Regions from separate parts of the Homo sapiens genome. Here all the other regions are linked to region 1. The links are contacts of gene promoters, found by promoter capture Hi-C in blood cells and fetal thymus (Javierre and others, 2016). All regions are on one chromosome and are shown on one strand. Each heading gives the region's core, a stretch centred on a gene start or on the middle of the fragment in contact. The rest is flanking DNA. Distances are from core to core; before and after follow the strand shown.

What was found. Contacts are between HindIII fragments. The CHiCAGO score rates a contact against its expected background, and 5 or more counts as called.
Region 2: a contact is called between a fragment that was not itself captured here and the fragment with the promoter of B4GALT4 in region 1, in 6 of 17 cell types (naive B cells, megakaryocytes, erythroblasts and 3 more). The highest score is 6.1, in naive B cells.
Region 3: a contact is called between a fragment that was not itself captured here and the fragment with the promoter of B4GALT4 in region 1, in 10 of 17 cell types (naive CD4 T cells, total CD4 T cells, total CD8 T cells and 7 more). The highest score is 8.8, in naive CD4 T cells.
Region 4: the fragment with the promoter of PLA1A here is called in contact with the fragment with the promoter of B4GALT4 in region 1 in 2 of 17 cell types (erythroblasts and monocytes); the score reaches 5.9 in erythroblasts.
Region 5: a fragment that was not itself captured here is called in contact with the fragment with the promoter of B4GALT4 in region 1 in 12 of 17 cell types (total CD8 T cells, naive B cells, total CD4 T cells and 9 more); the score reaches 16.8 in total CD8 T cells.
Region 6: a contact is called between the fragment with the promoter of ADPRH here and the fragment with the promoter of B4GALT4 in region 1, in 5 of 17 cell types (megakaryocytes, erythroblasts, total B cells and 2 more). The highest score is 5.5, in megakaryocytes.
Region 7: a contact is called between a fragment that was not itself captured here and the fragment with the promoter of B4GALT4 in region 1, in 2 of 17 cell types (activated CD4 T cells and naive CD4 T cells). The highest score is 5.7, in activated CD4 T cells.

Annotation. Positions count from the first base shown.
Region 1 is chr3:119,239,628-119,243,456 of GRCh38, reverse strand. B4GALT4 (beta-1,4-galactosyltransferase 4) reads left to right here and starts at 2,579. Exons shown (of 8, transcript NM_003778.4): 1 at 2,579-2,607. All of the region lies in intron 3 of B4GALT4-AS1 (B4GALT4 antisense RNA 1), which reads right to left. RefSeq lists silencers at 1,713-1,762, 2,413-2,892. The HindIII fragment of the contact is 11,429 bases long and covers 1,877-3,829 here.
Region 2 is chr3:119,704,811-119,708,639 of GRCh38, reverse strand. It overlaps CFAP91 (cilia and flagella associated protein 91), which reads right to left. Exons shown (of 18, transcript NM_033364.4): 2 at 1,755-1,831; 3 at 1,079-1,236; 4 at 1-49. Among named protein-coding and RNA genes, the nearest start is that of CFAP91, 3.7 kb to the right of the region's middle. The HindIII fragment of the contact is 4,731 bases long and covers 1-3,829 here.
Region 3 is chr3:118,871,810-118,875,638 of GRCh38, reverse strand. No RefSeq gene overlaps it. Among named protein-coding and RNA genes, the nearest start is that of IGSF11-AS1, 69 kb to the left of the region's middle. The HindIII fragment of the contact is 1,071 bases long and covers 1,543-2,613 here.
Region 4 is chr3:119,595,949-119,599,777 of GRCh38, reverse strand. PLA1A (phospholipase A1 member A) reads right to left here and starts at 1,893. Exons shown (of 11, transcript NM_015900.4): 1 at 1,792-1,893. The coding sequence starts at 1,864. RefSeq lists an enhancer at 1,025-1,214. The HindIII fragment of the contact is 18,763 bases long and covers 1-3,829 here.
Region 5 is chr3:118,890,264-118,894,092 of GRCh38, reverse strand. No RefSeq gene overlaps it. Among named protein-coding and RNA genes, the nearest start is that of IGSF11-AS1, 51 kb to the left of the region's middle. The HindIII fragment of the contact is 229 bases long and covers 1,911-2,139 here.
Region 6 is chr3:119,577,268-119,581,096 of GRCh38, reverse strand. It overlaps ADPRH (ADP-ribosylarginine hydrolase), which reads right to left and starts at 1,605. Exons shown (of 5, transcript NM_001125.4): 1 at 1,246-1,605; 2 at 461-546. RefSeq lists enhancers at 456-675, 1,616-1,715, 1,500-2,001 and a silencer at 1,296-1,435. The HindIII fragment of the contact is 4,349 bases long and covers 63-3,829 here.
Region 7 is chr3:118,926,474-118,930,062 of GRCh38, reverse strand. IGSF11 (immunoglobulin superfamily member 11) reads left to right here. Exons shown (of 7, transcript NM_001015887.3): 3 at 1,347-1,554. Among named protein-coding and RNA genes, the nearest start is that of IGSF11-AS1, 15 kb to the left of the region's middle. The HindIII fragment of the contact is 1,183 bases long and covers 659-1,841 here.

The DNA of each region.
Region 1 (3,829 bases), core at 1,330-3,829:
GTCAGCAGATAAACATGTGAACAAAGGTCTCTGGTTTTCCTAGGCAGAGGGCCCTGCCGCCTTCCGCAGTGTTTGTGTCCCTGGGTAGTTGAGATTAGGGAGTGGTGATGACTCTTAGCGAGCACGCTGCCTTCAAGCATCTGTTTAACAAAGCACATCTTGCACTGCCCTTAATCCATTTAACCCTTAGTGGACACAGCACATGTTTCAGAGAGCAGGGGGTTGGGGGTAAGGTTATAGATTAACAGCATCCCAAGGCAGAAGAATTTTTCCTAGTACAGAACAAAATGGAGTCTCCTATGTCAACTTCTTTCTACACAGACACAATAACAATCTGATCTCTCTTTCTTTTCCCCACATTTCCCCCTTTTCTATTGGACAAAACCGCCATCGTCATCATGGCCCGTTCTCAATGAGCTGTTGGGTACACCTCCCAGACAGGGTGGTGGCCGGGCAGAGGGGCTCCTCACTTCCCAGACGGGGCTGCCGGGCAGAGGGGCCCCCCACCTCCCAGACGGGGCGGCGGCCGGGCAGAGGGGCCCCCACCTCCCAGACGGGGCGGCGGCTGGGCAGAGGCGCCCCCCACCTCCCGGACGGGGCGGCTGGCCGGGCGGGGGCTGCCCCCCACTTGCCGGGCGGGGCGGCTGGCCAGGCGGGGGCTGCCCCCCCACCTCCCGGGCGGGGCGGCTGGCTGGGCGGCTGCCCCCCACCTCCCGGACCAGGCAGCTGCCCGGCGGAGGGGCTCCTCACTTCTCAGACAGGGCGGCCAGTCAGAGACGCTCCTCACCTCCCAGACGGGGTGGCGGCGGGGCAGAGACACTCCTCAGTTCCTAGACGGGTCGCCGCCGGGCAGAGGCATTCTTCACCTCTCAGACGGGGTGGTGGGGCAGAGGCGCTCCCCACATCCCAGATGATGGGCGGCCAGGCAGAGACGCTCCTCACTTCCTAGACGGGGTGGCGGCCGGGAAGAAGCGCTCCTCACTTTCCAGACTGGGCGGCTGGGCAGAGGGGCTCCCCACATCCCAGATGATGGGCGGCCAGGCAGAGACGCTCCTCACTTCCTATACGGCGTGGCAGCAGGGCAGAGGCTGCAATCTCGGCACTTTGGGAGGCCAAGGCAGGCGGCTGGGAGGTGGAGGTTGTAGCGATCCGAGATCAAGCCACTGCACTCCAGCCTGGGCAACATTGAGCACTGAGTGAGCGAGACTCCGTCTGCAATCCCGGCACCTCGGGAGGCCGAGGCTGGCAGACCACTCGCGGTCAGGAGCTGGAGACCAGCCCGGCCAACTCGGCGAAACCCCGTCTCCACCAAAAAATACGAAAACCAGTCAGGTGTGGCGGTGCGCGCCTGCAATCCCAGGCACTCGGCAGGCTGAGGCAGGGGAATCAGGCAGGGAGGCTGCCGTGAGCCGAGATGGCGGCAGTACAGTCCAGCCTCGGCTCGGCATCAGAGGGAGACCATGCAAAGGGGAGACGAGGACCGTGCAAAGGGGGGAGGGAGATGGGGAGGGAGACAGAGAGGGGGAGGGGGAGGGGAAAAGCTGAGTGATTCTTGCAAAAGGTATATATTATGCTTCCAGGCATCATATGCTCAAGACCTGGGGACTATGTGGGTATAAGTAACTGATTGTATAACGCCACTGGATGAAATCCAGTAATGTCCTTTTTCACTAAATGTGGTTATACACCCTTACAGCATGTTACAAAGGGAACACAAAAAAATAAGTTTCACACTGGACCTTGTTCAGGAGCAGTGTTGACCTATTTCACTGACCTATCCTCAACTGCCACTAGGTGGCCCTCTTTTCCAGCTTCCAAGGGCCTACATTGGGCCTATGCGGCCTCAGTATAGCCTCAGATTTCCTGCTATGAAGCTTAATGAGCCCAGCACTGGCTCTAGCTATGGTTTGTTCCTTTTTGGGTGGAGTGGATGTGTGGTTCTTGGAGAATCTACTACTTTCCCGTGAGTGCAGTGGGAGACTGCATTAGAGAATCTAGCTATCCTGACTGCCTAAACAGAGCCTACCATAATTTTTCACTCAAATCTTTAGTGTAAATATAATTGTCTTTGCTTTCTGTAATAATATCTTTGAAGAAATACGGATTTAAAAAAATCATTTAATATTCTCAGACCTGCAACATGGGAAAAATATTATTATTATTATTATCATTTTTGCAGTTGAGAGGGCTGAAATCTCGCAGGGTGATTAAGTTTATTAGCCTCTCTAAAGTCTCAGTTTCCCACTCTGTAAAATGGAAGGGTCCCTATCTCTTTCCTACTGCTTTGTGAGTATTTAAGGGGATGGAATTTGGGAAGCGCTCAGCACCCAGTCTACTATTGGCACAGGGTTTTAAAGCCACCCAGAGGCCGAGGCGTCAACCCTCCGTTTCCCTCCCGGTGCTCCTTCCAGCGCCCGGTGTGGTCGATTTGGCGGGGGTGGAGCGCCAGGCGCGTGCAGAGCCGGGCGGACCAGCCTCTCCGGCCAAGGCGGGAGGCGGAGCTCGTACTCAAGAGCCGCCTCCCGGGCGGCTGGGGCGGTCCCCGAGCTGCTTTCCGCGTTCTCCCCTCTCCGCGGGCAGTGCTAGCTCGCCGCGGCCGCCTCCGGGGTGAGTACGCTGGCTCCGCCGGCGCCCGGGAAATGCAGTTCCCTGGACACGGGCGCCGTGCGAGGGTAGCCGGGCGACGGCCGGGGTCAGTCCCAGGGCTGTAGCGGGGCGGGCGTGGGGATGACGTGGCGGCGTCCGTGGGGCAGTCCCGCCTCAGCCGGAGCGGTGGGCCGGGCCGGGGGCCTACGGAGGCCGAGCCTGGCGGGAGGCACCGGCTCAGGTGCTGGCGTTCCGCGCGGCGCCGCCTCTGCTGCGGGCCGGGGGAGCCAGACGAGGTGCTGCCGGGTAGGAAAAAATCCAGGGCTCATTCATACCCCAGGTCACGATTCCGGGGTCGCCCCCAGCACTTCTCCGCCGGGTGCATCAACCTGAAAAAGCCCCTTCTTCCTGGAAACCCTCCTTCTCCAGCGTTTCAACGGGGAAACTGATCAGCTGACACCAGCCCCAGTCCTGCGAGGGGCCGGCGACCTTTGACCTTTCTCCAAAGGGGTTGGTCACCTGGATTATAAAAGACTTCGGAGACAGCCATCCAGTGTTTGTTGATCTGTATCCCTTGATGTTCTGTCTTCCATTAGATAAGGGCTGTTAATTCTTGGTTTGAAAAAAAACAGACAAAGTCCAAAGGACTCTGCATCGAGGAGAGGCCTATGGGTTGGTAGCCTTAGGAGAGTAGTTATCAACAGTGGGTGGGTGTGCACACTGTTGCAAAGTGTTCCAGAGTGGGTGAGGGATGGGGACGTGGCGGTGGTGAGGGTACTGGTAGACCTCCTCAGCCGTTTGGTGATGAAAAGGAGGAAAAAGAAAATGGTAATCTGAGCGTGGAGGCGAGTTGTGGCTTTTTTTTTTTTTTTTAAATTTTTAAAGAAAGGAAAATAACACCTTTAAGATGCAAGAAAATCAAGGAGAGATCAGGATGAATAGGATTCAGGGTCCGGATTGAGAAACTGGGATTCAGAAGGGAGGGCTATTCCCGAGACCCAGGCGGGGAGTGCTGGAAGGTCTCTCTTGGGAGAGGAGATAATGCTTGATTGGATATAGTTCAGAAGTTTTTGGAATTTTGTCTTCTAGAGCAGGTTTGTTCTTTATGGAAATTGTAAACCCCATGAAATTGCAATAACTTTCGTCTACCTATAGCTTTGATCAGATTGAAAACATACGTTGTGAAAAAGTACTGACCTGGATTGAACTGTTTGACTACATAATCTAAGGGGAAGTGGATAGA
Region 2 (3,829 bases), core at 487-2,986, 470 kb before region 1:
TTCAGGATCTTCATAAACTTCTTTAGGCATCTGAAAAGAAGCGTCAGTTCTAAAATGAAGCAAGAAAACATTATTCAAGTCTAAAATATTTCCACATATAATTTCTATTTAATATTTCTATGTGTATAGAGTAGGACCTACACAGAGTATCTCATACTGAGAGTAAAGTCTTCCATAACCTGCATTTGACTGCCATACAACTTAGAGTATATATGATTCTTCCCCTGAGCCAGGAGACCAGAACCTAGTCAGACAGAGCAAGAGCTGAGAAAAGAGTGGATTTATGAAATCCCACATACAAAAATGCCCAATTTTAATTAAAAGCACACAAGAATAGCAAAATATTAAAAGACAATTTTTTTTTTTTTTTTTTTTGAGACAGAGTCTCGCTCTGTCACCCAGGCTGGAGTGCAGTGGTGCAATCTCCACCTCCTGGGTTCATGCCATTCTCCTGCCTCAGCCTCCCAAGTAGCTGGGACTACAGGCACCTGCCACCACACCCGGCTAACTTTTTGTATTTTTAGTAGAGACGGGGTTTCACCGTGTTAGCCAGGATGGTCTCAATCTCCTGACCTCATGATCCGCCTGCCTCGGCCTCCCAAAGTGCTGGGATTACAGGCGTGAGCCACTGTGCCTGGCCAAAAGACACTTTTTCTATGTCCAGGTTAAAAGGCTTTATAATTTTTAATTTACTAAATGTGAACTTGTAAGTAATTAAAAGAATAAAGAATTCGACTTATTCTTGAAGGTGCTTTGGCCCCAAGTTCCCAAAAAATATTTTAGATACTAGCAGAACAGAGCACTTTCAGTTGCTAAGTTGGATCCAAGCAACAACAAACTCAATCATCCCTACCTTTGGTGGCAAGTTGTCATTATATATATGACAAAATTATATATATATATATATCTCATATATACAATATATAATCAGGTTTGTTTGGTCAAAAGAGGTTTAGAAAGAAAATTTGGCCTAGGTATAACACCACAACTGAACATTTTAAAACCACACATGGTAAATGAATTTAAAGAAATGCTTTTAATGCATTTATTTTAGGCCCTGGAGCCACCCGACACTTACGTGGTGAGCTGCCGGAGGGCTTCTCTGTGTTTCTCCTTATGTCCCTTCCATTCCCGACTGATAAATGGTGGGACAGGATCTGACTTGCTCCAATATAGAGAATATCTTGGATAATGGATCAGGTTACTGAACATGGTTTTAAACCTGGGAACTTTTCTCTAATGTTAGAGAAGGGAGGCAAAGGACAAAATTATACCATCAGCTTTTCTAAAGCATTTTAATTACATTGTAAACTCTTTTTAAAAACATACAAAACAATGTATACAGCATAAGAAGAGGGGTTATTGCTGTATGCGTAAAATATCTTTAAATACATGCCCAAGAAACTGATGACAATGGCTGTTTATGTGGAGGGGGTAGGGGATAGGGCTAGAATTTACTTCACACTGTATATGCTTTTATACTACTTGAATTCTTTTAACATGGGCATATATTATTAAATTTATCCCATTGAAATAAATTAGCTTATGGGTTCTCTGTTCATTATTGGTGACTTAATCCTCACAATGAGCCACACGTATTAAGATGCTTTGCCCTCCAGTAATCTTGGCAAGGTAATTTCTGTGGAACCTAAAATCCAGTGAAGATTTGGTGATTAGTCAATCTGATCAATGCAGTCAGGCAAACTAGATGGTTCAGGTTCATCAGGTAGCCTTGGCTGATGAATTAGACATACCAGTCTGCTGCGAATCAGGGTAGCTTGGATATTTGCCTGTGTATGGTCTTTCTCACTTGACACAATAAACAATGGATCTGCAAAATAAACAATCAAGTAGCATAACAGATAGAACATATCTACCCCTAGGCTGAGAATAATGGCAAAGTAATGTAATCTCTTAATTGGAAAACAAATTTAAAAGTTTAAATATTGTCTGACTCTGCAGCAGCTCATGCTCTGTTGTGCATGTGGCCCTGTTACTCTACCACTTCTACCAGCAACAGTTGTCAAGATGTTTTTCTTTTCTGAGTATTCCAAGTCAGCTTACGGAAGTGGAATTCATAAAGAAAGTCTAGCATGTTTTCAAGTACTACACCCTGAACACACTTTCTTCTCTCCTATGAACAAAACTCCTTTTGAGCCTGGGTAACCCAAAAAATTCTTCAAGGGAAAGACCTTGTATATACGCACTATGCCAATTTGCAAGTGAAAGAAGCAATACATTTATACCATCTCCCATATTTGGTGCACTAGAAAGATGCAAACCACATGATATCTCAGAATTGGTGAACACGGTTAAAAAAAAAATCAGCTATCTTCAGAATTCACCCCTTAAGTTTGTAAGTTTGCTGATGATGGAACTGTTATTTTTACAAAGTTCAACAAAATATTGCCCTGCTATTATAAGTATCTGTTTATCAGGTATATCTTTAAAGTGATGAAGAATATTCATGATTGACTATACTGTACCACCCTTTAAAATCAACTGATTTGCCATTAAATTAACAAGCAGCCTTTGGATACACTTGATTTCCCAAGTAGACTTGTCTCTGGGGAGGCAAATACCCTGACCAGCTAGTCTAGATAACATGGTAACACATATTTCTCCATAGAAATTAATAATTTGGGAATTGTGATTTAGAAACAAGTCTCTTTTGAATTTGGATAATGTGTGTCAATTCCTAAAACCTAATAATTCATTAGTAACCCAACAAATACGATTTACTGAATGCAGACATTGGATATTCCCACCAAGGCTGAAAAGCTGCAAGAGGCTCAGGCTCTTTTTGCTCCTTCATTCAACACATGTTTATTGACTGGCTACTCTATCTAGGTGCTTAGAATACATCAACAAAACGACAAAAATCTTTGACTTCATGAGAGAGAGACAACAAACAACAAACATAATAAACTAGCAAATTACACATTAGAATTTGAGGGTTGTTATTTTTAAAAAAGAAGAAATCGGGTAAGGAAGATTGGGTTGCAATTTTAACTAGGGTGGTCGGGGCAGGCCCTTGAGAAGGTGGCATGTAAGGAGACTTGAAGGTGAGGGAGTTAGCTAGTTAGATATCTGAAGAACATTCTAGGATGGGAGCATGCCTGATACATCTGAAGAACAGCAAAGTCCCTAGGATGGGAACATGCCTGATACGTCTGAAGAATAGCAAAGAAACCAGGACAAATGAGGCAGAATGAAGGAGGGGAAAGAGAGTAGATAAGAGGCCAGAGAAGTAACTAGGGAACTAATCACATAGGGCTTCATAAGGAAGGGTAAAAGAACCTGGAAAGGTGTTCATCTTTGCACCACCACAGTTCTGTCAAGGTGGAAACCTGGCCCAAGGCCAGTCAATTCATTGGCCAGCCAACAACCAATCTTAAATTTCTAACTTAAATTTTCAGCTACAATACACAAAGACGCTATACAATTGGTGGTGAGCTTTAGGGCTAATTAGTCAAGAAGCACGCCACCCTAGTCCCTATCATAGTAAGAGAAATCCATACACAAGAGGCTTTCTGTCAGATGGAAGGAAGCAAGCATAGAGATGTGTTGCTTAATGATGGGGATACGTTCTTAGAAACGGGTTATGAGGTGAGCTTATCGTTGTGTAAATATCAGAGGGTACTTAACATAAACCTAGCTGGTATAGCCTACTCCACACCTAGGCTATATAGTATAGCCTATTGCTCCTAGGCTACAAACCCATACAGCATGTTATTGTACTGAATACTGTAGACAGTTGTAACACAATGGTATTTGTATATCTAAACACAGAAAAAGTGATGCATTGGGCTACAATGTTATGACAGCT
Region 3 (3,829 bases), core at 829-3,328, 370 kb after region 1:
ACTGTGATGTTTTTTACCTTGTCCATGTAGCTGACGCCTTGGCAAATATTTCCTGGGCCTCCGTGAGGGGCATCATCTAAGTCATCTGGAATCTATTCTTTTCTCCAACTCTACTGCCAAAAGCACATCTTTAGATCTTTAGTTGTTGTTTGGGATTCTGGGTAATATAGAAACCCACTGCTTACATCACATGGCTTTCTATTTAGGACTTAAAAGAGAAAGGAACTGCAGTTCATTTTCTCTGTGTTACACTATTTTTGATTCTCTTTGTTTTTCACCAGCTATTTTCTTCCACTCATGTGCACAGTATTTCTTTTATGAACCAGCTGCCCTGCTCATTTTAAATTGAGATTGTTTTACCCAATTATTCACCTTCTGCCTCTCTTTACAATGCTTCCTACATTGTAGCCACATTGCATTATTAAACATTTTCATGATAAGCAATTCAGAGCAGTATTCAAAATTAAAAACATTCATCCTGAGCCAAATAGGAGCTCTAGTTTATTGGAACGTGCTTTAACAATAATCTGATGTTTCTCAGAAGGTTATCAAATTCCAGTCTGAGTTTCTGGATGGTAGATCTCTTTTTAGGATCCCAGCACCTAGTTAACCTCTTCTAATTTGCCATTGGTTCTTAGCAATTTGGTTCATGCTAAAGCTTCTTTGATTTCAACAGCTGATTTTTTATTAGAAAGTTTTCCCTAACTTCTGTCTCTCTCCACACCTCTTTGAGAAATAGGAGCAAGTTTGCTTCCTACCTCATCCATTAATTCTAGGTGAACTACATTGTACTATTGTATTAATTAAAGTGGGCATTTATAATAATGCACCAAACTTAGCATTGTGTAAGTGAACAGGAAATTCTCACTATTGTTGGAAAAATTTAAAAAATATTACCCTTTGAGACACTCTCTAGGATAATCTCAAATCCTTCATTATGTGCTTCTTAAGTAAATGGCATTGCCTTAAAAGAGCTGTATTTCTTGTCTGTCCAAGTCTACCTTTTAAGTGACAAAATTGCAACAATGGTAAATGCATTGCTTCCCGTGTCCTCCAAGACTTCACAGCTCATATCTCAATACTTCAGTCTCTCAAGTGCAAAATGAGGATAATAGTTTACAGCATTTAAGATGTGAAGCACTTAGAACAGTCACTGAAACATTATTCAATGCACACTAGCCACTATCACTATTATTTGAAATGTCTCATTGTTATAAATACATATTTTAAAATGTGTGCAAAGTCAACATTGTATTTAAGACTATTGCATTCCCCCAGTGCCACAGTACCACTAATTGAATTTGTGATTTAGGTCTCTCCAGGCAGAATTCAAGGCTGTGGCTCGGCTTTAATACCATCTAGATATTGGATTCCTGACCTGACTTGTTGAGTCTTACCTATCCTGTATTCTTTTTCAATTGTCTCTGCCTACCAATTGAGATAGCCTCCGATTTTACCTGTGCTCCTCCTCCTCTTTCTCTCTCAGCCACTGGTGAGTATTTACATGAGCTAAGATTTAGGAGTGCTGTAGATCAGGAAGCTTTGTTGGCATTAGTGGCTGATTCAGTTTCCCCAGTGCCTGTCCCCTGTGGCTGTGCTGAGTGCTCTCCTGGACCCTCCTCTCTGGTCACATCCTGTTCTAAGTAATGGTCCATTCAGATGTGATCTTAGTCTCATCGTTTTAGTCCATTTGTGCTGCTAATAACAAAATACGACAGACTGGGTAATTTATAAACAATAGAAATTTATTTCTTACAGTTCTGGAGGCTGGGCAGTTCAAGATAAAGGCACCAGCATTCAGTGTCTGGTGAGGGCCTTCTTGCTGTGTCCTCACATATTTGCAGGGCCAAAAAGGCAAAAAGACCCTAAGCCACTTCCCTCCAGATCTTCTATAAGGCACTAATCTGTTTATGAGAGGAGAGCCGGAATGACTAATCATCTTCCTAAAGTCCCCACCTCATAACAACACCACCATGGGGATTAAGTTTCAACATATGAATTCTGAAAAACATTCAGACAATAGCACTTAACATTTAAAAGTTGCTTAATTTCAAGGCCAAAAATTAATCTTATGTTTCAGAATATTATTCAAAAATCCCTCACAAGCAGTTTAACCTCAATGTGATATGGAAGACCAGTGGTCATTACAAAGTATGTTGTTAGAAGTCTTTACTATTTCCCAGATGACTGGAAATATGGCCTTACACTAGAGTGACCCTATTACCAGCTCACTCAGGTTAGTCTCAGTTTATATTTGTAGCCTAGGAATTATTAATAGTGTCCCTCAATTACTCTCAGAGTGTCTTAATTTGGGCAATAAGTTTATAAGGTCACCACAGCTTGAAATGATGTCTAGTAGTCATCCTCCAAATTATTTTATGTCAGGAGTTCACAATCTAACATCAGTTTTCCGTAGATCTTCACATTCACATTACAGCTTTGTTGACTCTTTCAACATCTCTATTTTAATAGCTCTGAGACAAAACTTCAGGAAAGTTATGTTGCTTATCTTAGAAACCTAACTTTCATGGTGAAAGGATATGATGAAAATAGGAATCTCCACCACAGAAGAATAGAAAAATCTCTTCCTAGGAGATATCTTTTCCTGAAGCTTTTTTTGATTGCCCAAGACAGGAAAATAAATCTTCTGTGATTATATAAGATAATGTATACTTATCATAGGATATACATATCATATTCAAATTAATTTTGTCCTGTGACTATGCTCCTTGAAGATGGGAACCATTTTGTAATTATTTGCTTCTTGAAGGTGGTAACTATTTCATAATTATTTGTGTTTTTCCAGGCCTCACACATGGCACATAGTAGATGCTGAAAAAAGTTTGTGAATCTGAATATTGGAACTCAATTGAACTCAAGACTATTTTTATCAACACTTCTAGTGATCAAAGTTGATTAGTATATACTAGAAGTTGCTGATTATAAAACAAATTAATCTGATGTGTTATTGGTCATGCAGGCCACCCACCCAGTCTATCCTTCTATCTACTATGTGTGAAACATTCTCTTCCTTCCACTTTATGTGGAGATAGGTGAAACATTTCCTCTTTTCATTCTCTCAGTAAGTCTGATGACTCCCTATGTTCCTGATCATCTGATCCCAAGGAAACACGCTATTAGTCAATTCTCACACTGTTTTAAAGAAATACCTGAGACTGGGTAATTTATGAAGAAAGGAGGTTTAATTGACTCACAGTTCCACAGGCTGTATAGAAAGCATGACTGGGAGGTTTCAGGAAACTTACAATCATGGTGGAAGATGAAGGGGAAGCAAGGCACATCTTCCTATGGCAGAGCAGGAGAGAAAGGGGGGAAGTGTCATACTTTTAAACCATCAGATCTCATGAGAACTCACCCACTATCATGAGAACAACAAGGAGGAAATCCAGCCCCATGATCCAATCACCTCCCAGCAGGCCCCTCCCCCAACACTGGGGATTCTAATTTGACATGAGATTTGGGTGGGAACACAGAGCTAACCCATATCGTTCTGCCCTTGATCCCCACCCCCAAATCTCATGTCCTTCTCACATTTCAAAACCAATTATGCTTCCCAATAGTCCCACAAAGTCTTAACTCATTCCAGCATTAACCCAAAATTCAGGTCCAAAGTCTCACCTGAGATAAGCCAAGTCCCTTATGCCTATGAGCCTGAAAATCAAAAACAATTTAGTTGCTTCCAGGATACAATGGAAGTACAGGGATTTGGTAAATGCTCTCATTCCAAATGGGAGAAATTGGCCAAAACAAAGGGGCTACAGGCCCCATGCAAGTCCAAAACACAGAAGGACAGTCATTAAACCTTAAA
Region 4 (3,829 bases), core at 644-3,143, 360 kb before region 1:
ACCAGAGACAAACAAAGGCAAGAAGACCAGGCAAGGAAATACCCAGGCCCTGCTAACATGTTATTATAAGCCCACTTCCTGCCCAGAGCATCTAGAATGATTCCCACATATGTGGCTGGAACCTGATCAGCTTCTGCGCTGACCCTAACCCTGCTATCTGGTTCAGAATTTCTGAGCTTCTCTTATCTGTGTGACAGAGGCCCCAGGCTTACCGACAGATGAGCTTCCAAAAAGAGTTTGATGCCAATTTGCTATAGTCCTCCCACTCCTCAACCTTCAAATCAGGACAACTAGCAAATGCCTTCCAGCCCCTAAGGAGGCCTGGGGCTCCTGAGCAGGGACAAAGTGGGCCTGCCAAGCCCACTTCTCAGAACGGGACCCACAGCTCTCCTAGGTGATACCTCCCACCTTCTCTCCAAGGTGGCTCATGACAGCCCTGTTCCCTCCACTTCCATCAGCCTAGACAACAATTTGCTAATAATAAAATCACAAAGGAATAAGCAACTGCAAAAGTCAGGCCCTGTGCACAGATGATCCCATTCAGTCCTTACAGCATTCCTATCTGGTAAGGATCATCTCTAGCTACAGGTAAAGAAAGCCACTTCCTCAAGGTCACATAGCTACAAAGAAACAGAGCCAGGATTCCAGTCTGGGTTAGCCCGACCCAGACAGAGCCTATTCCCCATCAGCTCAGCCCATTGCCTCCTCTAAGCATCAATGTCTGCAATATTCACTGGACATCTGCTCTATACAGAGCACAGCACTAACTATGCTAAAAGAGACAGAAGCCTCAAATCCTCACCTTTTAGGGACAACTAATTGAGGTAGGAGAAAGCACATACAGAGCTCAACAGCACCTCTGAAAAACCACCCATGAGTGCAAGGAGAGCATGCAGTCACCCAGTGGAACTTTGTAGCAGGGAGGGGTGCTGAGCAGAAAAAGAATGAGTACAAGGGAGATAGGAATACAGAAGCCCCCTTGAAAGATGCAAAGAACAGAAATCAATCCAAAGGTGATGTGAGCAACCCCAGGCAGAAGCAATGACATATTCTAGAGCCAGGGAATGAGAATTAAATGTCCAGCGGAGAAGACAGAAAAGCAGCCTGCTATTGTGAGTAGAGGGAGGGGATTTTTCTAAGGGTGACCTCACCATAGTGAGAAGGAGTCTTCTGAGAACTTCTGAGAACCCAAAGTAGAGCAGGTTAATTTTCTGTTAGGCAAGAGGGATCAGTGGGTCAGTTCTTTACTGGGGGAAAGGTAAATGCAAATTGGCATCTGAGGGAAGTTTTCCCAGGGGCATCTGAGGTTAGCAGGGACTAGTTCCCATCACCCAGCCAGGATGACAAACCACTTGAGTTAGGTTGCTGGATTAGAAAGGACATCTAACAATCTCAGTGACAAAATCATTATTAGTTTGGAAAACCTAAATTTTAAAATTAAATATATCTTGGAATGGTGGATATTTATGGGGTGAAAAATGAATATCTTAGAATTAACCAAATTTTATTTTCTTACAGTTGGTCCTGGCTTGTGCAAGGTGAGAAAGGGTTTTTTTATGTGGGCTTTAGAAAAATGAGTCGGATAACCAGGGAAAGTTCAGGTTTTGTGACCTGTTTACCATCATTCCGATTATGATAAAAGGGGTTTTTTTCCCCTACTGTTTTAAATTCACCTCAGAAGAGGCAAAAGGCTTTTAGGGGATCTTCCAAAAGTTAGTACTGCATAAGTAGTTGGAGAAATATGATCACTGACTGAAATAAGTTCCTCCCAAGGCCTGAGCCCTGGCTTACCTGAACTTCCAACGCTGAGCCACAAAATGAGGCCCCCCACCCAGAAGCAGCTCTCCCAGGGACCTGGGGGCATCGCTGAGCTGGAAATCTCAGAGCTGGTATGGAGTAATTCCCTAAAGCCAAAGAGATCATATAACCCAGCCTCTCAGAAAACACCCACGTGGATTTCACTAATCATTAACTAGCCTCATGACCTGAAAAGGAAAAATAAATTCTTCTTTATTTATTTAAATGCCAGAGTTTTCGGTTTCTTCTTCTCAATGAAAATAAATACACTTTCTTTTTTGTTAACCAGAGTGCATTGAAACACACTGTCCCTCTTTGAGCCAAACATGATCAGGAAACTATTTCCTGCACCTCTCCCACTTCCCGTGATAGGATGTTAGTAATAACCAAGGCAGAAGTCCTGCATCTCTGGGTGGCCAGAAACCCCTCATTGTGTTGGAATTATCTGTGGACATGTGTGTCTCCCTAGAAGATTCTGAGTGACTTGAGAGCAAAGGCTTTCTCTTTTCATTTTTGAATACCCAGTGCCTAGCACAAGACTGAGATAATACTATATATTAAGTGTCCATTTAAAGGGAAGAAGGGAAGAAAAAGTTTCCTCTGGAGAGTACTATCATTTTGTAGAATCTTGGGGCTAGGAGTCAAGTCCAACTTTGGAGATGTTCAACTTCCTGAATTCACAAAGAAACTGCATATTAGAAAAAGAAAATGACCTGTAGAGATCCCGTTGGTGGAAGTGGCAGAGCCGGGCCTGGAACCAAGATGGTTCCAGCACCATATGGCCTCTCCACCCCAAAGAGTGGCAGAAACCACAAAGAGCTATTTCTAGGCAAGTCAATGGGGCAGAGGCAGAGGGCAGGGCACTTGCCCCCCACTCCCTAAATCATAACACATTGCTGTGAGGTAGACAGCCCACTGGCAGGGCCAGGATCATCTTTTCCAAACAATAACTCTCTGAGGTGAGTATTATCACAGAGAAGTTAAGTAATTTGTACAACAAATTACTTATTTGTATTATAATTGTATACAAATTACTTAACTGTGACAATTACACAGTTAGTAAGCACAGATAAGTACAAATTACTTCTCTGTGATAGAAGTAATTTGTATTAAATACAAACATTTGTGTTTTACACAGCTGGTAGGGCACAGAGAATTTAAGTCATTTGCCTGAGGTCATGCAGAGCTGGGATTTAAAGCGGGATGAGCCAGCCCCAGAATCCATGCTCTGAGCAACGATACTCTACAGCAACAACTCCTGAAGAGGCTCTGGGACCATGTCATCATGGCTGAACGCAGGATACAATTATTTTGGAGGGGCTAGCCCTTACATCCCCTTGTGCACATGATCTCACTGCTCAAGTGCTGCTGCAACCAGGAAGGGGTGTGGCAATAAGTAGTGCACAGCAGAGGTCACTACTGAAAGCTGTCTTGATATTAGAGACCAAGCCAAGTGTATGAGTTCAGGTCCTCGGAGAAGAAGATGCCAAGGTAAGACAAGATATGCAAGAGATTTATCGAGCTAACACCTGTAAAGAATAAGAGGTACTAGAGAAGCCAGGAAGCGCCTTTAGATGGTGGTGAACATCTGATACCTGTGAAAGAGAATGGGCAGGAAAGAGAGGATTACATAGGAAGAGTCTCAGGCTGCAGCACAGTTTCTAGAATATTCTGACCAGGCCAATGGGGACTCCTCAGGCCAAAGTCTTTTGTGACAGCAGATGTGTTTTGTAGAAATGAGCCTGCATTAGCAGCCACATCTTGCTTAGTCATTAGCTGAGGTCAGCCTCAGCACAAAGACAGAGGTAGATTCAGAAGACAGCAGCTGGAGCCATCAGTCAATCATTTTCCCTACAGCAGGAGAACTGAGGGCTGTTTTCCTAGCCACCCACACCGTGGCCAGAGATAGTTAATCCAGGGTGCCCTTGTGCATGGCATGAATACAGCTGACATTGAGAGAGCACTTTCACTTTCTTTCACATCCAACATCTAGCACAGAGCTCTCCAAGCGGGGTCAGAGTGGTCCCTTCCA
Region 5 (3,829 bases), core at 776-3,275, 350 kb after region 1:
CACAATCATTTTTGATCCTTAATTATGTGCTAAACATTGTTCTGGGTGTTGAAGGTAAAAACAGAGAAGTAACTGCAGCCATATTCTCAAAAAGTCCATATTGCAGGAGGGATCCACATCTGTGAGCAAGTAGTTGCAAGTCGTGTAAGTATATGAGTGGATGTTTATGCAAGTTCAAGCATATGGGACTACTACTTCTATATCTTGGTTGTGGTCACAACACTTAACACGTTGCTGTATTCAGAGAAAGTGCTTGAAGGATGCGCTAAATTCATGAAACTGAAAATATATGATTTGGTCTCTTAACTTCAGTGTTAAAAGTAGCAGTCAAATATTAGAATATTCCCAAAGCAAGGCCACATCAGAGTCATTTACTCATGTGGCAAATGATTGTGCCAGTTCCTTGGGGGCATTTGATGTTATATTAGAGATGCAGTATTGTTTGGGAAAGCTGTGGAGATAACATTCTTAATGCAGTGGTTTGGAAGAATCTTAAGTAATTATGAAGGGTTTTGTGTGAAAATATCTGTTATGCTTATTACATGGCAGTACATGAAAAAATGCATTTCAAGTACTAATTTATTTAATTTTATCACACTTCTACATGGACGCTATCATCACTCATATTTTACAAGTTCAGAAACTGAGGTGGTTAAACATTTTTCCCAGACTATTCAGTAATCTGTCAGTTGCTTTTCTCAGTAGATATTTCTGTCTGACTGAACCAATGTCTAAAAAGAAAGATCTGGGATCCTCGTCGTTTTGCCTTCAAATAGCCCTCTTTTGGACAAATCACTTGTGTTAAGTAAGATGATATTCAACTTCACAGAAAAAATGCTGAGACAATAAATGCAATTCAGAGAAAAGTTGACTTGTAAATTCTATGTGTATACAGCTATTTATAGCTTTTCCTCACAGCTTCCTTGTGAAGAAGGTATTATTTCCCTATTTTAGGTAAAGGCAAGGCACAAAATTCTGACTTAATCATAAGACATTAATGATAGAGACAAGTTTATTAAACAAAGCAATAAGTATAGTGCCTACTATGTATTTAACACAGTGAGGTCAGTTGATACCTGATTAATTTTAGGAGGTCAGATTAGAATAGATAATTTAGCTTATTATAACTTACATTGAAGCCATATTTCTCTATCATCCATCAGTTGCTCCCTCAGTTTATCAGATTTGCAGCAGTTTTGCATTTGAGGCTTGGACAAGATTGTATGCCTATATATATATATATATGTATGTGTGTGTGTATATATATATATATGAATGAGCTTCAGTTGTCCATTACATTGGACAAACTACAAAATTCTCTAAGGCTCAGTTTCATCTACAAAATAGAAACAATATAATAGTTATCTTTGAGATTGTGAGTACTAAATGAAATAATGCACATAAGATGAATATCATGGTGTCTGGTGATAGTAAACACTTGATATTTGCCATTATTCGTAGTAGTTCAGAAGCTTTAAATTTCTAGGCAATAGCTATGTCATTTACACCTACTCAGTATTTCAACTCTTTTTGCCAGAAGTACTATTTGAGTGCTACTGCATATAAAATAGCAATTTGGGACATTTTTTTGTTTAAGAGAAAGGAGAAGCCTCGGTAATTATTGTCTACCCAAATACTTTCTCCTATTTCCCTTTTCCTCACATTTTGTTCCAAAATAACACACTTATCTTCTGATTACTATCAATTTCAAATCGCTGAGGATAATTAAGAGGGTGGGAGAACATCAGCATTTATAGAGCACCTACTGTATGCTAGACAGCATACTGGACACTTTGTGTATATCCCATAGAATCCTCAACACTTTCAATTTTAGTACTGTATTATGCTAATTTTACAGATGAAGGAACAGGCTTTCATGGGTTAAGTACCTTGCTCAAGGTCATAAAGCTTGTAAGATGTAGAGCCAAGGGCATTGCTCATCTGTTGCCATATACTGTCCTTCCATTAAGATAGCCAATAAATAGTAAAGGTCTTGGTACTGCCTCAAATTTGGCCTGGCATAGACAAGAGTTCTTTATTCTTTCTAGTCATTCTTTGCCCATTAAAAAAATTATTTAATAAAATTACCATCTCTGACTTATAAGACTATTAGAATAATTTTTTCCATGCGGTCAAGCTTTTTGAGTTTTTCTCCTCTTAATTTCTGCACACTCGGGGGGGTCTCACAGCCGTTTAATTCTTTCTCATCACTTTCCTAGGGCATTTGCAATTTGTGTAAAACACTAGTTCCCTTACCACCTTCAGCTCTACAGTCAGAGCTATTGCTAGGGGAGGATGCGTTTGAGGAAATTCCCGTAGGCGAGAAGTTTTGAGGGGAACACAGAGGTCTTTGAAGACATGGTGAATTTGGAGGAAATTCTACGTAGAAGGATGCCTTTTGCTACCCTGGGCCTGCACTTGAGTCCCAGCTCCGTCACTTCCTACTGACTTGAGGCAAGCTGTTTAGCCTCTCTGGGGATATAACATGGAGATTATAATTGCTACATCATAGGTCTGAGGATACCATTAGATAATGTATATAAAATGGTATAGATAAATTGTAGCTGTTACTGGTTTACTTTTTAAGTCATGTATTTGAATTTTATAAGGAGAAAAACGGAAGTTCTACTGGAGAGATTAGAGAAGACCTGAGTCTCACATACAACCAGGTTGTAACTCTTTTCTTCACCTCCCCTCTCTCAGTCATCCAGAGATCAAGGTGTGTTCACCCCTCCAACTTCACAGTGCTGATCCTGTATTATGATGTAAGTAGAGGCGAGGCTGTGATTTCTGAGCCCCAATCCCTTTAGTATAGAGATCACAACCTGAAATGCCTGTGAAGGTAAAGTAAATGAGAGAACTGGGCCAGATGGGGAGCATGGTGACTTGGAGATTTATGCCCTGCCTAAAGAGGTTAGCAGCTACTCAGCTCCCACCAAGAGTGGTCAGTAGGACTTGGGTCCAGGATGGCCAGGTCTCTTGAATCTTCAAGAGAAGCCAGAAATGCTTATTTGTATCTCTCTTGGATTGTATATGTCGGCAATGAATTTTTTTAAGTTAAATCCTGCTTAATTATACATTCCTGTGGGTCTGTGTGGCCTGTGGTCCAGTATTTACAATATCTGTTATTAAGCAGACTTGTTTCCAGCAGCTTCATGGGTGGATCCAGCTTGGAGCTCTCCTCTTCTGAATAGTATCGAGTAACAGGAAACTATGTGTCAGGTGCTGCTCTAAGCATTTTACATCTATTAAATCATTTTAATCCTCACAACCACTGTATGAGATAGGTACAAACACTATCCCATTTTGCAGATAATAACACCGAGGTACAAGTGATAAGTAACTAGCCTAAGTTTATATGGGAAGACCTGGGACCTGGATTCAAATATAGGCAACCTGGCTCCTAATTGCTATATAGTATTTTCTAATGTTTGTGCTTTCAGAAGAAAAAGAAACGGTGCATTTCTGGTAATTTTAAATTTTCAAGGAATATTTCAATGATTTAGATCAGTACACTGCTCTCCCTAGTTCTTGAAACAATCCGGGCTGACATTTTGGAAAGGAGGGGAAAAGGGCAATTCTCTCATCAGGCTTCTTGGGCAAAGCTCTTCTGAAGTAAATGGGGCTGAAAGCCCCCATTGTGTAAACTCAGCCCACACCTCCCCACAGCGAGAAGTCATAAGCAAGTCTTGAGTCTCCACATAACTCTAGAGTTTTATAGAGGAAACTCTTCATTAACAATGCATTGATTTGTGACCACACTTCTGTAAAAAGAACAGCTTTCATAGAGTCCTCTGCAGCTTGCTTGCTTGCTTTTTTTTTTGAAGTG
Region 6 (3,829 bases), core at 356-2,855, 340 kb before region 1:
GACTCTGTCTCAAAAAAAAAAAAAAAAAAAAAGTTCTTAGAGTGCTTGGCACATAGTAAGCTTGATTTTTGACATATTTGTATTATTCATATACAACCAGGGAAAATGGGTGTTCTGTTTTAGAACTAGAACATTTTCTCCCCACAACCTTTCCTTCGACAGTAATGTTTAAATATTGTTTCTCTTAGAAATGATCAGCTTCTAGAGAATTCGAATCTCTATTAATAATATACCCACCATGAATGAAATCCCTGGTAAAGCGCTGGCTTCCCTGTTGGTGCATTTCCTAAGAACCCCCCTCTTTCAGCCAATTCCTCAGGGTTCCCTTCTCCCTGTGGCTTTCAGGTCAAAGCCCTCCATCCCATCCAGGCCAATACTTTTATAAGGGTCTGGCAGACTAGCTCATTCTCCCCTCAGGTGAAACTTTTCCCTCCCCTCCACTTATCTAAACCCTATTTACCCAAGGTCTAGTTCAAGTCAGGAGGCTTCCAGAAGTGCTTCTGCAGCTGCACTGCTGTTGGCCATGGAATGCAGGCTGGAGAGCCCCTGGAGAAGGAGTAAACGACGAAGATGGATGCGTTCCACTACCCAGTTACTGGTAATGCTGAGTTTCTGAGCTCACAAAGGATATTTGTAAATGTTATTTACATAGTTTATTATTTACAGTGAAGCCTAGGCACTGAGATTCTGGGCTACTAGACCTGACAGACACCCGGGACAGCGGTTTGCCCATCTGTAAACTGGAGGGGGAAGTGGGGAGGTATAGGCTCTCGGAAGTTCCGTCCTGCGCTGCGATTTTCAGACACTAGGCCAAGACACTCTGCTTCTTGGCCTCGGAGGACTAACTTTAACCCCCCATACCCTCCCTCTCAATGTCCTCATTGTCCTTTCCGTAATTCCTTCTGGCTCCACCCTAATGTGTGCTTCTGTGAATTGCAAGCTGGGATGGGGGAAGAAGACCGGCATCTTTTTTCGGTTGTAAATTCCCTTTAACGTTCGCTTTCAGAACGCTGTAATTACTTAACTCCTCTGAACTTTCACGGGTCACATTCTCGTACCCGAACTATACATTCAGAACTAAGATCTGATCAGCTGCTTCCGGGCCATGCCCGGCTTTGGAAAGAAACGGGGCGGTTGACACGCTCCCACGATTTGCAAGACTGGGAATCCTCATGGTCGGCCACACTCGGAGAGCGCCAGGGGCGGGGGAGGGGAGCGCGGGGCCGAGGGCCGGGATCGCGATACCTGCTGTAGCCTGGACTGGAACGCGCGAGCGACGGGCGTGGCGCGGGCTCCCGGGGCCGGGGAAGAGGCCTTGGCTGCTGCGGGTGGACGAGGGCGCGGGTTGGGGCGGAGCCGGGTCACCGGGTTCCGGGACTGTCCCCAGATAAGCAGGGTGGCGGCGAGGGCCCCCGCACCTGCGCTTGGCCGCGCTGAGTGAGCTAATCTTGGAGCCTCCAAGGCGGCTTCCTGGCACCGCCGCGCCCTTCTGCACCCAAGCGAGAGTGGACGGGACCTCCGTCGCCCGCCCCAAATGCTCTGAAGAGCCCGGAGCCTGGTGCCCGGAATGTGGCGGCACCGGAAAGCCGGCTCTCGCCTGGCTGTGGTCAGTGACTCCCGTGTGGCCCCGGCTGACGCCTTCGCCCGTGCTCACGTCCGACTTTGTAGGACTGTAGTGGACCGGGTGTGCCCAGATGCTTGAAGAGCGTACTGAGTGTGCCGCCCTTGCCAGGGTTCTGGGCCCTCACGCATAAAGTGGGATAATAATATCTGCCTCTTAGAATGGTTGTTAAGGATTCAGTTAGTTAATTTTAACTAGTCATTTATTTGGCAGCAGCGTAGAATTCTTGTATCCTGATCGTAAATAAAAGCAAAGAAAAACGAAGAGTATTTTTGTCTAAATACATTAATCATGTCACTTTTAAAGCAAATCAGAATCACCATATGCAAATATTCTATATATTTCTCCAAAGTTTTAAATTTGCTATGCCTATTTTCTTGCTGTAATGACTAGCCTTGGTCTGAGAGCTTTTTAAAAAATTGATATATAATTTATATATAATGAAATGTCCTTACACCATAATCGAGATATGAAATATTTCCATCACTTTAAAACATTCTCTTGTGGCCTTCCCAGTGAATAACCATCTCCATCTCCAACTCTAGCCTAAGTGACTTTTGAGTGTTTACAAAAATCAAGTTCACCAATAAGGGAGGCAGAGATCACCTCCAACCCCCTACACCCTCTAGCTCTTAGTGAGCTAATCAGCTGCATCTAGAAGCCAAATTGACACTAGGCAGATTAACAAGAGAAAAGTATACAAATTTTATTAATTTTACATGTACATGGGGATGTTAAGAGACTGAATCCTGAAGAAAGTGTCCAAAGCAAGATGCTTTTATACTTTTTAGAAAAAGAGTGATAAATTTAAGAAGAAGTGACAGGACAAAGAAAATCCGGCTAGGGTGGTAAAAAATTTCTAGGGGAGCCCCTAGGAGATATATGGGGGGTGGGGTGTAAAACAGGTGGAAGATAATGGTTACTTTGCAAGAATGTTTACTCCAGTCCAAATGCCACCTCCAGTTCCAAATCTCTGGTGATGAGAGCTATTTTCTCGCTCTGGCGTGGAGAACATACCTCTCCTAGAGGAATCTTTATTGCTGGCTGCATGCAGGAAGAGACAGCTCAGCTCCTGTCAGGGAACCAGGCTCATTTGTCTTTCACACAGTATGCCAATCACTGAGGCGCACAAGTTTTGCAGTAGAGAAAGGGTGTATTCACAAGGCAGCCAAGACAGGAGACTGGAGAACAGGCCTCAAATGTGCCTTTCCAAAGATGGAATTTTAGGAGTGCTTATGGGATAGGGGAGGAAGGTGGTCCAAGGTTCAGAGAAAGATGAGGTAAGGAAAAGTGAGGCAATCGGTAATCTGAGCAAGCATAGTCAATCTTCATGGCTGTTCATAGAACACATGTTCACAAAATCGTGACGTTAGCATGATCTGAGAGTGGAGTTTTGGGCCTTCTGATGTCAAAAGGTCACCCATTGGACACTCACGCAGGCCAAGATGAAGGGCTGGTGGCTTGAACTGGACAAGAACTGACTCTAAGTTCCTGAAAAATAACTTAAGCAATATTTTCCATGGTGTCCTATCAGAGAAGTTATCTATAAGGAGGCAAGTGGAATTTAGTTATGTATCGTCTAGCTACATGACTTTTAGCTATGCAGGTTTTAAAATCGACTAGAAGCAAGTGACCAAAAGCAAGCAAGGCAAATTAAGTGTCAGGCCTAATCAGGTCAGCCCTCAGTTTTACCCTTTCTGAAACTATAATTTCTCTAATGTTTTCAACTCAAAGTAATCAATATATTATATGGCATATTTGGGGATGGCACATCCTTCATTCTTTCAACTGTCAAAGATTTTCAGCCTCTGAGGATGCAGTCAAAGCAAGTTCTGTAGTAAGAGACATTTTGAATAATAAGCATCCCGATAAAACTCAACACAGTTTCAGCTTAAGATGTCTGCTGAGGATATTGTTCATATTATGTAGTGATCTTTCTGTGAGAATCCATGGGAAAGGGTGATTTTTTGTTTTCGTTTTTGACTTAAATGTAAAGAATAACTGGGGCTGGGCACAGTGGTTCATACCTGTAATCCCAGTACTTTGGGAGGCCAAGGGGGACAGATTGCTTGAGACCAGGAGTTCGAGACCAGCCTGGGCAACATGGTGAAACCTGTTCTCTACAAAAAATACAAAAATTATCCAGGCATGCGCCTGTGGTCTGAGCTACTCAGGAGGCTGAGGTGGGAGGACTGCTTGAGCCCAGGA
Region 7 (3,589 bases), core at 1-2,500, 310 kb after region 1:
GGAGGTTGGTAGGGAAGCATCATGAGTACATCTTTGGTTTCGAGAATAAGGTGGCATTGTCAATGTGCGTGTACTCTTTTAAGGCCTACTCCTCTGCCCTATCAGTCACTTATCAGAAGAGGCTATCCTCTTTTTAAAAAGGTAACAGATGTTAAGAATATCCTTCTGAGAGGTTTATGTAGGAACCTGTAATTTTATCAACAACATTGCTAATAGGCAATTTTGACCAGAAGGGACTGGCACCATCACAGATTGTTGAGAGCATACTTTTAAAAGATAGTGATAATAGTAAGGAAGTAACATTAGGTTGTAGTACTTGATTTTTTTTAAGTTAATTTCACTAGTATTTTAAAGTAAAACATGACTAGCCATGTTAGTGAGCTCAAAGAGTCTCATATAAATTATTAATAGAATGTGTACGTGAAAGAATGTACATGAAAATGGAAGCTACTCCCCAGTAAGCTGTATCAATTACAGGAAAAAGACACATAATTTGTAGAACTCACTGCAGAAAATAATGCTCAGGAAGTTAATGAATTGTGATAATGATTACACCTTTATTTACAATGTTAATGGAGCTTTTCTCCTTCAGTAAGATTATTATTACCTCAAAATATTTGATAAGCTAAATTTTCTGATATGAAATTAAATAGAAGCTTCTTTTGTTTCTTCATAGAATTTTTGTAGTTAGACTCCGCCTTCAAGATCATTTTGTTCAACCTTATTATTTTAGGAATCAAGGATGGAGTTTAAGTAAAGAGCTTGAGTAGAGTTACTAAACACATTTACAGGTAGAGCTTGAATAGAACTGAGTCCCTCACTCGCAGCCCAAAGGGCTTTTTGTTATGTCATTCTAAGTCTTCCATGAAGACTTAACTTTGATAGTAGAGGCTGACATAAGAACAGTAATCATGGACTTGTAACTCTACTTCCCTTCTGTGACATTTATTTACATTCAGTCTGTACCTATGATCTATCATTGTGTGACCTAATAAGCATGAGAATGGCAGTGCTAATATTTTTTAATTTTTGTTTTGGAATCAGTTTTTTGAACTGGTAAGAATATTTATGAACTGATAGTAGGGTGGGCAGCAGCAAAGACTTTTTTTATGTTCTGATGTGTTAGGTAAGGAAAAAATATTATTCTAATTTGTTATGTGAGAATTTAAAACCCCAAGATACCTATGAACAAATACTGTAAAAAAAAAGTTGATGATAATTATCATATTAGAAATAAAATTTTCCAATGTTTGGTGCAGCATTTGGTACTGTCTACCAAATAGTTATTGTTTTGTGTCTAGGAGAGGATAGAGTGGCCAGTTTATTTATTTTGCTTTCTTTTCCAGGTCATCCTGTATCAGGGTGGACAGATGTTTGATGGTGCCCCCCGGTTCCACGGTAGGGTAGGATTTACAGGCACCATGCCAGCTACCAATGTCTCTATCTTCATTAATAACACTCAGTTATCAGACACTGGCACCTACCAGTGCCTGGTCAACAACCTTCCAGACATAGGGGGCAGGAACATTGGGGTCACCGGTCTCACAGTGTTAGGTGAGTGACACAAGAGTCCTTGGCTGTTCGGGCTTTACTCACGAAGCTACTCTCAAGCATACTTGCTTCTGCCCTTGTTTCTACACCTTCAGTCTGCTTATGTTCTTTTTCTGTCTTCTCTCAGTTCCATCTCTTCTCTCCTTCTCCATGCTTCTTACAGATAGTCTCCCCCTCCTTTCTTCATTTCCGGCGGTCTCTAAAACTTACTTATTTAATGACTTTCTTCTGAAGGTGAAGAAAGATGGTATCAAATACCATCAGAAGTGGTCTCTCACTTTTCTTAAGCTTCTACAGTACAGAACTTATTGTTGAGAGCAAATTAAATCAAGAATGACTTATTTTAGTACAGAGCAGAAGTTTTAGCATGTGTGAGAATAATACTATTACTTCATATCTGTGTAACACCGAGTAGGATCACCACAGTTCTTGGCTTGCACGTGTTGTCCTGGCATAATTGTAATAATACCTCCTTTTACTCCCCCAAGTATCCTTGTTTGAAGAATAAATCATATTATCACCTTAATACTGAGACCAAATAGATTTAGGTTTTTTTTCCCCAGATTGCATAGAAAATAAACAACAACGTTTAGATTAAAATTTAGATCTCCTTACTCAAACCAGCACTCTTTCCATTACACCATGTTGTTAGACTGTCTCACACTAATATCCATTATAAGCATGTTTTATTTTTCAATTCTTCTGTCTCTAATATAAAATACTGCTTTCTAAATGAATACTTGTGGTAGAGGTGGCTAAACTCAGTTCATCTGGGGAGATGGAAGACGTTTTGAGAAGGTTGATGTTCTTGATTCTCCTCCATCCTACTCAAGTCTCAGAATCTACTCCCGCAGTCCTTGTCAAACTCCACCCCCGCTTTCTTTTTCCTTCGTTGTTGTTGAGTCACTTAAGAATACAGGTGTTGGGAATTCTTGTCATTTTCCCTCGGCCTTTGGTGCCTTTTTCTCCCAGCCTTCAAACAGAATAAAAAAACTGATGACCAAGTCGGGGATTTCTATTCTCAAAACCATATTCATTGTATTATATTAAAAATTGTATAGATTATAAAATACTCTGAGTACCGAGTATAGTGTACTAATGGAATTAAATATTCTGATACTTAGACCTGTAAGTTAGGTGACTGGCTTCCCATATTATCCAACCTTATTTCTTTTTTGTTTGTCCAGACTTAACTTCTCAGCATCATTTTTAAAAAGAAGATAAAAAGCCCTTAATTTATTTTATAATTAATGCTACCTCCAAAGAATTATTTTGGGTTTCTCTTCCTGGCATCACAGTGGCAATGACAAAGGCAAACAAAGATTAGTTTGCCCCACCGCAGTAGTTAGGATTCTCTAAGATTTTTACTCTTCCTACCTATATCCTTTTATTGTTCTCTCTTCCCCTACCCACTTTTTTTTTTCCTGATTCCTGTGTATACTCTGCATTCATTTTTTCATTCATTCATTTATTCATTTTGGAAAGGGTGAACATATTTACTGAAAAGTCATTAGCATTACAAATAAATCATAAATTAGACTTAAACTCTACCATCTGTATTCCCCAGCATGAAACTTCAAGCCATGGGCTTAGTTTATGGTTTTGTTTTGTTTTTTTCCTTGTTACTATATATCACCACCTTCTTCCTTTAGTGTTCTTTTTGGTAATTTTTGTTCCATGTTTTTTGTGTCCTGCCTTAATGATTGTGAAATGTTCACTACATTATTATCCACTCTGCTTTTACCTGAACCTTAGTTTAACTTTCTCCACCATAAAGCAGAATTTGGTATAAAGTGGGTCTGCCCAGTTTTTGTTTGTAAAGTAACAAAGGGCCTTGTTAAAGTGGTTTTCGCCAGGGCAGGATAATGGTTGTTTTTCCCTGAAATCTTGAAAAGTGGCCTCTTTCAGCAATGTTTTTAAAAGCAACATGTTGATACAATGGATCTTAAGAATTCTTCTTTAGAGGAAGCAGAGTGAAAGGAAGATCTTAAGATACCTTGGAACTATAATCAAAGAGTGAAGCCCCTTTGTACATATT